2 separate regions of the Homo sapiens genome follow, and region 1 is linked to region 2. The links are contacts of gene promoters, found by promoter capture Hi-C in blood cells and fetal thymus (Javierre and others, 2016). All regions are on one chromosome and are shown on one strand. The core of a region is centred on a gene start or on the middle of the fragment in contact, and the rest is flanking DNA. Distances in the headings are between cores, read along the strand shown. Region 1 has its middle 29 kb from the start of VN1R4. Region 2 holds the start of ZNF534 (zinc finger protein 534).

Evidence for each region. Contacts are between HindIII fragments. The CHiCAGO score rates a contact against its expected background, and 5 or more counts as called.
Region 1: a contact is called between a fragment that was not itself captured here and the fragment with the promoter of ZNF534 in region 2, in 1 of 17 cell types (M2 macrophages). The highest score is 5.2, in M2 macrophages.

The regions. Positions count from the first base shown.
Region 1 is chr19:53,293,776-53,298,957 of GRCh38, forward strand. No RefSeq gene overlaps it. Among named protein-coding and RNA genes, the nearest start is that of VN1R4, 29 kb to the left of the region's middle. RefSeq lists an enhancer at 934-2,133. The HindIII fragment of the contact is 1,754 bases long and covers 1,687-3,440 here.
Region 2 is chr19:52,425,446-52,430,676 of GRCh38, forward strand. ZNF534 (zinc finger protein 534) reads left to right here and starts at 3,703. Exons shown (of 5, transcript NM_001143938.3): 1 at 3,703-3,799. It also overlaps the pseudogene DPPA5P1. The HindIII fragment of the contact is 5,138 bases long and covers 2,464-5,231 here.

The DNA.
Region 1 (5,182 bases), core at 1,314-3,813, 870 kb after region 2:
TTGAACAATATAACAAAGATAATGCCTTCCACTGAGGCAAAAGTTAGGAAGATTTTCTTGCGATCCACTTTAAAATAGTGGGGGCAGGGTGCGGTGGCTCACGGCTATAATCCCAGCACTTTGGAAGGCTGAGGTGTGTGGATGACTTGAGGCCAGGCGTTTGAGACCAGCCTGGCCAATATGGTGAAATCCTATCTCTACCAAAAATACAAAATTAGCTGGGTGTGAGGGCACTGACCTGGAATCGCAATTACTTGGGAGGCTGAGGCAGGAGAATCCGTTGAGCCTGGGAGGCGAAGGCTGTAGTGAATTGAGGTGGCACCACTGTACTCCAGCCTGGGCGATAGAGCGAGACTCTGTCGCAAAAAATAAATAAAATAAAATAATGGACCGGGCATGGTGGCTCGTGCCTGTAATCCCAGCACTTTGGGAGGCCGAGGCGGGCAGATCACAAGGTCAGGAGATCAAGACCACCCTGGCTAATTCAGTGAAACCCCATCTCTAGTGATAAGCAGAAAAGAGGGTTGAGGAAGGGACTTTACTGGCCCAACCAGAAACAAACTAAGAACCCAGGACTCTATTCTCTCCCTTGGACACCCTACACCAATCCCTGATGTCACATAATGCAATTTAGTGTAATCCGCAGTGACATTGATTGTTGGTGTTTAATCCAAGTGATAATGAAAACTGACTTGTAATGTGCTTAAGGACTTTAGCTCCAAAATTAATCTACTGTTCAGTCCACCCTAGGAGAATTATAGACTCAATTTTCAGAATTATTAAGAGTGCACTACAAGACCACCATGCTTCTCAAAGAGATAGGAGAGGTCAAGAGGAATCACCTAATCCTGTGCAGAAAGGGTGTCTCCAAATGGCAGTTGCTGGAATACGAATGTTTTCTCTCATCCTTAGTGCATGAATGCTTAGTGGAAACTGATTGTCTCCTCCTGAAAACATCCATAGTCTCTTCATACTGACAGATTGTTTTCCATCTTCTAGTTAAAGAATCAGCATTTAAGGAAGTGGTAACATACAAACTGGGTTTCAGAGAGCAGCCCTTGGGCACAAAAGTTTCTAATGATGTATTCTCTGGTTTAAGCATAGTCTCATATGAATCCCACAGTGTACTGCTGGAAATGAAAGCTGGGAGTCGCAAAGAAAATGAGTACTTGAACAAAAGATTTCTCAGCAAGGCAATTTTACTTCTGCAGAAGGGTGCTGCCTATAAGCCTGATTGCCATGAGAGCACCCCAAACAAAGGAAAGCAGGGATTCTTATTCCTAACGCATTGGGCCCCTACTGCTGCGTCCTATCTCCGTTGGCTGGAGCTGGACTGCACAATCTAGACTGATACCGATTGGCTAAAAACTTAAAACTTTACTAAATAGGTAAAGGCACAATGGGGAACAAAGAAAGGGATGGGGTTGGTTGTAGGAAACTAGGAAAACAATAACATTTCCAAATAAGGAAAGAAGCCTGGGCTGCAAGCTGGGACATGCCTGGGCATGTCTAGGCCTGTCCGGACAGGCCAGGAAACATATGGGTTAGGCCTCTTGGTTTACAGTACAGGGATATAGGATTACTTATTTCTTTACTGTGTTTACCAACTGCCCGGGGCACAACAAAGAGTTATTAGTAGGGTAAAAGATTTGTTAATAGTATGAAACATGAAGGAAACTTGAAAGAAGCTTTTAAGTGGGACTATCATTCTTAGAACTTAATATTATTAACAAAAAGGGAAGTTTTGAAGAGGAACTTTTAATTTCCACAGTACAATTTTGATTTGTAAAATACACAAAATTTAACACGTTAAAGATTCCATTTGTACAAGGGGCTTCCACTTAACATGTTTCAGAAATCATGCTTTATTGCTATTACTTTTACTTGTATCAATTATGAATATAGAGATAAGTATATAATTTGAAATTACTAACATTAGGTTTCTACCTTGTATGATTTTATCACATATTGGTGTTTCATTTCCCATAGTTTGGAGCAAGACATAGTGTTCAGTGATTTCTGTGATAGGTTCCAATTTATTTCTGGCATAAAAGCAAAATCTTATGTCTGCTGCCATCTCAAGATAGAGGCAATTGTGCATTCTTTAAATATGATTTGTCATGGAGCAGTTCCTAGAGAATTATAAGGTCATTCTGCGTCTATGTTATGTTAAGATATCTCAATTTTATTTGAAGTTTGTATTGGCATATTCTATAAATCTTTATCCATGAATGTAAACTTGTTACAAAGTTACAAAATAAAATAACACCAATCTACAATAAGAGGACAGGACTTAAAATGACTCTATATACATCTGCATTACTTGAAGAAGACAGTTAAATTCTCCCTTGCATAGAGTTTAACTCCACCACTCTTTACCAACCCTGCCAAGGTCAAGCCCCCTCTTTGCTCTAAAATTTTGGATTTTGACAAATCAGTAGCTTTATCCATCTACGTGTTCCTTAGCTTTCCAGTGAAAGTAATAGTCCTGCCTGTTCTGTGATCTGCCTGCCTTGGCCTCCCAAAGTGCTGGGATTACAGGCGTGAGCCACCGCGCCCGGCCCGAGTGTACCTTTTTGAGTCATTTTCCTTGAGTAGCCCTCATGTTTTTGACATCATTTGTCCACTCCTGTTCCAAAGCACCCTTTCAAGGATTGTTGTATAAGAAATCATTCTAAGAGATGTTGACACTGTCATCATTGGGGGTAAAAGACAGACATGACCATGTAACAAAGATTCTGCCTCCTGCTTGAAGGCCCTACATATTTCATGACAGTCTTGATGATGGTGGGATGCTGAGAGAAAAATGATTTTCTGGAAAAGGAAAGGACGGGTTGAGGGATAAGAGAAGGCACGTGGTCATGGAGTACATGTGTTCATCAAGCTGGAAACAAGGAGGAGTAGGAAGCCTCCCTGCTCTTCCATGCTAGTGAAGCTCATGTAAGGGAAGAAGGATTTAAACAAGCAACTGAATGTGCTTTGCTTACTATTCATTCTTTTCCTGGCAGAACAGTGAAGATTCAAGGGTGACTTGAAAGCATTCTAGCTTCCGTATTTGAGCCTTAAGCAGCCAGCAGGCAGGTGGCACTGGGAGGGTCGAGCTTTGCTGCTGCCTTCCTTACCAGCGCAGACACTCTCCTGCTCTGCACCCCAGTTTCTTCCTCTGTCCCTATCCTGACTTCGTCAACATTAAAGAAGAAACTAAATATTCTTGGAATTTGTTGTAAGTGGGGAACTCAAACTTCTACAGCTCTGCTGGATATGCATGCCCCTGTTTCCATTCTGGCCTCTGTGGTGCATTGCAGGGAGGGTGGGCTAGGTGCGGGGGAGGCTGAAAGTCCCCGGGGATAAGCATGGGTCATGGGTGCACGCGTGGGCAGAAAAAGAAAGGCTCCGTATCTGGCCCTCCCTGGTTGCTGAACGTACAAGCAGAAGAAGGAAGCTTCGCAGAACTTAGGGTGAAGAAACAAAAGATGAAACCTCCCTCTACCCTGGCAGGCCCCATGCTCACCCCATCTACACCCGCGCATTTCCCACAGGCTGCCTGGGATCCTGTGGTGCAGCCTGCTAGAGTGTAATTTCTCTATCAGGGAAACTGTTTGTACAGCAAATTGGGTGGCCGGAGTTGAAGAGATGGCTCTCACGTAACGTATATTTAAAAATTACCTTACTAAAGCACGCTGGAGGAGTTCAACCTGAGCTTCCAGATCACTCTTTATATTTCATGGCTTCCGCCCCCATCCAAGAGGCAGCCTGGAGACTTCCATCCACTGCTTTTTAGGGACCAGGTCCTAGAGAGACAGGGACGATCTCCTGAGACTGAAATCCCACCCTCAGAGCCTTCTGATCTTTCTGGATTCAGGAGAGTTTCCTCCCAAGGTGAAAACGGGAGGAGGCAGGTTAGGGAAGCATTGTCTTCGCCCTCTCCCTCCAGTGTTTCCTAACCTTGACCCATGTTTGACTTAACCTCAAAGGGTCCACCCATCCCTATATCCAGCCTCACACGGGACTTAGAACATGACTCTCTCCAAGGGTGGGACCCAGCCAGCGGGGGAAGCTCACCAGGAGATTCCAACGTGCAACCAAGTTGAGAGTCAGTCTATGTTTGTGCTTCTCCCACTTTAACCCACATGTGAAACACCTGGGGTTGCTATATAAGCTGCAGCTACTGATTGAGCAGGTGGGGGTGGGGCTGTGCCTGAGGGTCTGTGTTTCTCAGAAGCTACGGGTCTGCAGGTGACACTCTGGGCACCCAGTCCTCTTTGCTCAAGTAAATGAAACACGATGATTGAAATGTAAAGAAATTGGCCTGAGGTGAAAAGGAAAACTCAAAACACCTGTAAAACGTGTCATAGTTCAGAGAATTTTATTCATATGGAAAGAAATTAACCAAGCAGAATTTTACAATGACTTTTAATAACAAAAGTTCCAAGGCTAATAGAGTACATCATTACAAATGAAATTCATTCACAAACTTGAATTTACTCTATTGTTTACTTGTGGTATGATAATAATAATAGTAAGATATATTTTACCATGTGCCATTCATGACGTGCTTTGCATAACTTATTGAATCCACTGAATAACTCCAACACTGAGAATATTGGTACCTCAACTTTACACATGCGCTAGCTGAGATGCCCTCTCTACCACAGTGGAAATCAGAGTCTAGGTAGCTTCATAAAATAAATGGAGTATTTCCCTTGTTTGATGTCCTGGAAAAATGTATACCATATAAAAAAGAACAGTTTCTTAAATGTTTGAATTCAATGATTTAAAAAAAACACATTCTTCCAAGAAAAAAAAATTTCCCATTTTCCAAGGCTAAGCGTTTCTCACTACAACTCTCCTTCACAGTCAAATATTCTTGAGTCAGGAGACACTGACGTTTTCCACTACCATCAAAGGGCCCTTTGCCCAGAATTACTCAAATTTCAGTGGTTTGCTCCCTCCCTAGATGAGTTTCAGAGCTTTTACTAGTGGAGCATTGTTTGCTTATGTTGACTCAGTTTCTCATATAATTGTATGTAATTGAAAAAGAAATCTATAGGACACTTTCAACAGCCCCATTTTAATACAGGTTAAATTTACACAATGTAAATAGGCAGGTTCGTTGATCCCCGATAGTATCTGGGGTCCACGTTTGAACAGACACCGCTGCCAGGGAGGGGCTGACCCCGCA
Region 2 (5,231 bases), core at 2,453-4,952:
GCTCTTGTTGCTCAGGCTGGAGTGCAATGGTGCAGTCTTGGCTCACCGCAACCTCTGCCTCCCCGGTTCAAGCGATTCTCCTGCGTCAGCCTCCCAAGTAGCTGGGATTACAGGCATGTGCCACCACACCCAGCTAATTTTTTATTTTTAGTAGGCGGGGTTTCTCCATGTTGGTCAGGCTGCTCCCAAACTCCTGACCTCAGGTGATCCACCCACCTCAGCCTCCCAAAGTGCTGGATTACAGGCATGAGCCACTGCACCCGGCGTTTTTTTTTTTTTTTTTTTTTTTTGTTGTTGTTGTTTTTAATTCATCAGGCTGGAGCAGTGTTTAAACCAATCTGGAGTTACCATTCCAGCTATGGCCACAACCTGATCTCTACATCTTGGCCTTCTTCACATTGGCTGGAAGCTGGCTCACTTCACCCAAGGGCGTAGTTTGACGGCATTCATGCTTTCCACAAGTTTGAGCATCCCTCGCTCCTGGCACTGGCAGTGCCACTCAGCCATGGACTGGGGCATCCACTTGGTCTGGCACTTGTATAAATAGAAGCCGTAACCGACAACCTCGGTGAGGTCTGAAGACTCCAGAGCCTTCAGCACGAGCATGACCTTGCTCACCTGCTCGATGTAAGGGATTTGAGATCAGTCTGGGCCAAACATGGCTTCCAGCAGCTGCATCTGGACCTGGAGCACCTCTGGATCTTTCAGGAAGTTTCACCCATGGTGGGATATTTCTACATCTGGGATTGTTCCCAACTTGTAACCCTCACAACCAAAACTATGCTCCCGCATGAGCCGGGCCTAAGCGTTCATCAGTATTTTTGATTCCCACCAAATGTATGAAGATTACAATTTCTTCACAGCCTTACTTGTGAAGCAGGTTCACTGCACACTGGTTACCAACGTGTTGGAGTTGAGTGAGAGATAGTCCCATGAACACACAGTAAGTTACATGAAGTGAATTTGTTACAGATTGGCAGCAACGACAGCAGATGCCTGGGGTTCATGCATGCTGTTCCCGAAGGCTCAGGAAAACCACCCAGTTCAGATGCAGTCTGCGTGTGTGTTCCTCCCGCATCACAGCTGAGGGAGCCTGAAAGGCGGCCTGGCCCAGGTTTCATGCTCCAGGGATGCATGGCACGTTGGCCTAAAACAATGAAGGGCATCCTGTTCTGAGGGGACTGGAACAGATCCTGTCCTTCTCTGGTAAGGATGGACAGGATCCTGTCCTTCTCTGGTAAGGATGGACAGGATCCTGTCCTTCATCTCAGTATGTTGCTTTTCTAGCACATTTTATATTCATTCTTGGGAACTACAAGTGAGAAGTCAGACGCAACTGGGCCAGTTCAACCCCACTTGAGTGCTGTCTTGCAGTCTCCCCACCAACCCAGTATCCCCTTTAATAAAGCTAGTCAATTTATGTGTGCACTGACCTTCCTGGATCTGGAGGTAGAGGCTTGTCTCAGGAGATTGAAGTAATATCTTGACTGGCAGAATCTCAGCGCGACATCACTGAGGTACAGCCAGTTGCATTTCACTAGGCTCAAGAGGATTGCTGCCTCAAGCAGGATAACCAGGCCTGCCTGGAACAGTGCCATAGTCCGGGATCCCAGTGACCTGGGTGAGAAGTTGCTATTCAGGTCAAAGAAAATTTCTTCAGGTGACCCCACTGTCTCTAGCCAATAGTCCTGCTTGTGGATCTTACGTATTTGTGTTTCAAAACTACCTGAGGTCCTGATGTGGGGTCCTTACCTCCTGTGCACAGTGACTCATGCCTGTAATTTGAGTACTTTGGGAGTGTAGACAGAAGGAAAACTTGAGGCCAGAACTTGGACACCCGGCTGGGCAACAAAGTGAGACTCCATCTCTACAAAGTAATAATAATATATAAAACTAAAAAATTAGCACAGTCCAATGTCACAGGCCTGTACTTCCAGCTACTCGGGAGACTGAGGTAGGAGGTGCCCATGACCCCAGGAAGTCAAGGTTGTAGTGAGCTATGATTGTGCCACTGCACTCCAGCCTGGATGTCACAGGTTGATTCCCTGTCTTTAAAAAAAAAAAAAAAGTCTTAAACTAAATAATTTATACCTATTTTTAAAGTTATTGGCTTTTTTAAAAAGAGTTGGTGACCTGACTTCACACTGACCTTAGTCCTCTATGCCCAAGGTGGTGTCCCTAGGAAAGTTTCTGGAATTGAGCACAGGGTTGACCTCACCCTCTGGAGTGAATGGGGAATGTAAATGAAAAGTATTTCTAGCCGGGCGCGGTGGCTCACGCCTGTAATCCCAGCACTTAGGGAGGCTGAGGCGGGCGGATCATGAGGTCGGGAGATCGAGACTACGGTGAAACCCAGTCTCTACTAAAAATACAAAAAAAATTAGCCAGGCATGGTGGCGGGTGCCTGTAGTACCAGCTACTCGGGAGGCTGAGGCAGGAGAATGGTGTGAACCCGGGAGGCGAAGCTTGCGGTGAGCCGAGATTGTGCCACTGCACTCCAGCCTGGACGACAGAGCAAGACTCCATCTCAAAAAAAAAAAAAAAAGTATTTCTATTCTATGGGGCATTGGCATGATACTGCGCATTCCACTCTGGCAGGGTTTAGCATTTCACACTTTAGCTTCCATCCCCTTCACAGATAGTTCCAAAGTGTCTTAATTCCTAAAATTTGTCTTTCTGGCTGGGCATAGTGGCTCACGCCTGTAATCCCAACACTCTGGGAGGCCGAGGCGGGCAGATCACCTGAGGTCAGAAGTTCAAGACCAGCCTGGCCATGGTGAAACCCCGTCTCTACTAAAAATACAACAAATTAGTCGGGTGTGGTGGTGCGCACCTGTAATCCCAGCTACTCGGGAGGCTGAGGCAGGAGAATCACTTGAACCTGGGAGGCATAGGTTGCAGTGAGCCGAGATCTCATCATTGAGCTTCAGCCTGGGCAACGAGCGAAACTCTCAAACAAACAAACAAACAAAAAAAATGTCTTTCTTTCGTTCTTTCTTGTCTCTCCCTTTTTCTCACACACAGGCACAGACACCTACATTCTTTTCTTTGTTGCACTATTTCTCTCTAGTCTTATTTTCTTTCTTTCTTTTCTTTTTTTTTTTTTTTTTTGAGACGGAGTCTCACTCCATCGCCAGGCTGGAGTGTAGTGGTACGATTTCGGCTCACTGCAACCCTGCCTCCCGGGTTCAAGTGATTCTCCTGCCTCAGCCTCCCGAGTAGCTGGGACTACAGGCGCCCACCACCACACCCAGCTAATTTTTGTGTTTTTAGTAGAGACGGGGGTTTCATCATGTTGGCCAGGATGGTCTCGATCTCCTGACCTCGTGATCCGCCCGGCTTGGCCTCCCAAAGTGCTGGGATTACAGGAGTGAGCCACCGCACCCGGCCTTGTCTTTCTTTTTGCTTTCTTTTCACGCTCTCTTCTCTCTCTGCTTCCAGAGTAGTTGGGACTTAAAATTTATTGTAATAACAGGAATTCTCGTGGATCTAATCTAATCACCAACCGATTTTGCTCTGCCCCAGCAAGATCTGTTTACAGATCTGTTTACAGAAGTGCTGAGCAGATCTCGCCTCCAAAACCCTAAAACAGGATCGCTGAGTCAGACTGACAGAAGCATAGACCCCGCCTTGAGCCCGCCCTGTCCCGGCCCTGCCCTCGGCCCCGGGCCCGGCCTGTACGATGCGCGCGCAATTTCCTGCAGACCCGGAAGTCGAGATCATGGAGTGAACGTTTCGCGCGCTTTTTCCTGTAGACCCGGCACCCGACTGCGCGGAAAGACTGTCTAAGCCGCCACTCGTGAGTTTGCCTTTGTCTAGATTAAATTTAGGCTGCCCAGTTCCTGTGTGCTTCTACACCCGCGATCTGAGGGCTCATGCAGACCTTGAAGTCCCGGCACCGCTCTATCCACTCCAAGTAAATTCAGACATTCTCTAGAGAGTCTGGAGGTCGCTTACCTGCGTGTTAAAACCGCTTGGAGGCTTCTAGGCCGGGCGCGGTGCCTCACGCCTGTAATCCTGGCACTTTGCTATTTTTTTTTCATTTTTTGTAATTATTCAGTCTAGTTGATTGAATCCATTGATGTGTACCCCAGAGATACCAAGGGCTGACTTTAGACTGTATCTGCTCGTTAGTCACTTAATAGTCTTTTTTTTTTTTTTTTTCCTGAGACTGAGTTTTGCTCTTGTTGCCCAGGCTGGAGTGCAATGGCGTGATCTCGGCTCACTGCAAACTCCGCCTCCCGGATTCAAGCGATTCTCCCGCCTGGGCCTCCCGAGTAGCTGGGATTACAGGCATACGCCACCATGCCTCTCTAATTTTGTATTTTTAGTAGAGATGGGGTTTCACCATGTTGGCCAGGCTGGTCTCGAACTCCTGACCTCAGGTGATCTGCCCGCCTCATCCTTTCAAAGTGCTGGGATTACAGGCATGAGCCACCGTACTTGGCCAATAGTCTTTTGGATGAGATCCACTTTTATGGTATCTCAGTGCTTTTTTTTCATGTAACCCTTTTTTTTTTCCCTTAACAATGCCCTCCAGGCACATGAGTATTGATTGATGCTGACAATTTTTTTTTTGGGTTTTTTTGAGACAGAGTCTCACTCTGACGCCAAGGCTGGAGTGCAGTGGCACTGTGTTGGCTGACTGCAACCTCTGTCTCCTGGGTTCAAGCAATTCTCCTGCCTCAGTCTCCCGAGTAGCTGGGATTACAGGTGTCCACCACCACGGCCGGCTAGTTTTTATATTTTTAGTACAGACAGGGTTTGACCATGTTGGCCAGGCTGGTCTTGAACTCCTGACCTCAGGTGATCCACCTGCCTCGGCCTCCCAAAGTGCTGGGATTACAGGCGTGAGCCACTGCGCCCGGCCTTGATGCTGACAATTTGGATATGCCAGTGAGAAGCTGTAACATGGAGTCTTTAAGGGGAATTAATAGGGTTTAGTACTGATGGAGGTTTCAGGCATCCATTGGGGCTCTTGGAACATAGTGCACATCGATAAAAGGATTCTACTATAGTCTATATCTAGAATTGAGCACTGTGATCCACAGAGGGCTGAGGGGCCTGTGCTCTGCATGAGCTTTGGTCAGGGTGAGGTCTGTGCTTTTTTTTTGTTTTTTTTTGAGATAGAGTCGCACTCTGTCACCCAGGCTGGAGTGCAGTGTTAAAATCTTGGCTCACTGCAACCTCTGTCTCCTGGGTTCAAGCAATTCTCCTGCCTCAGCCTCCTA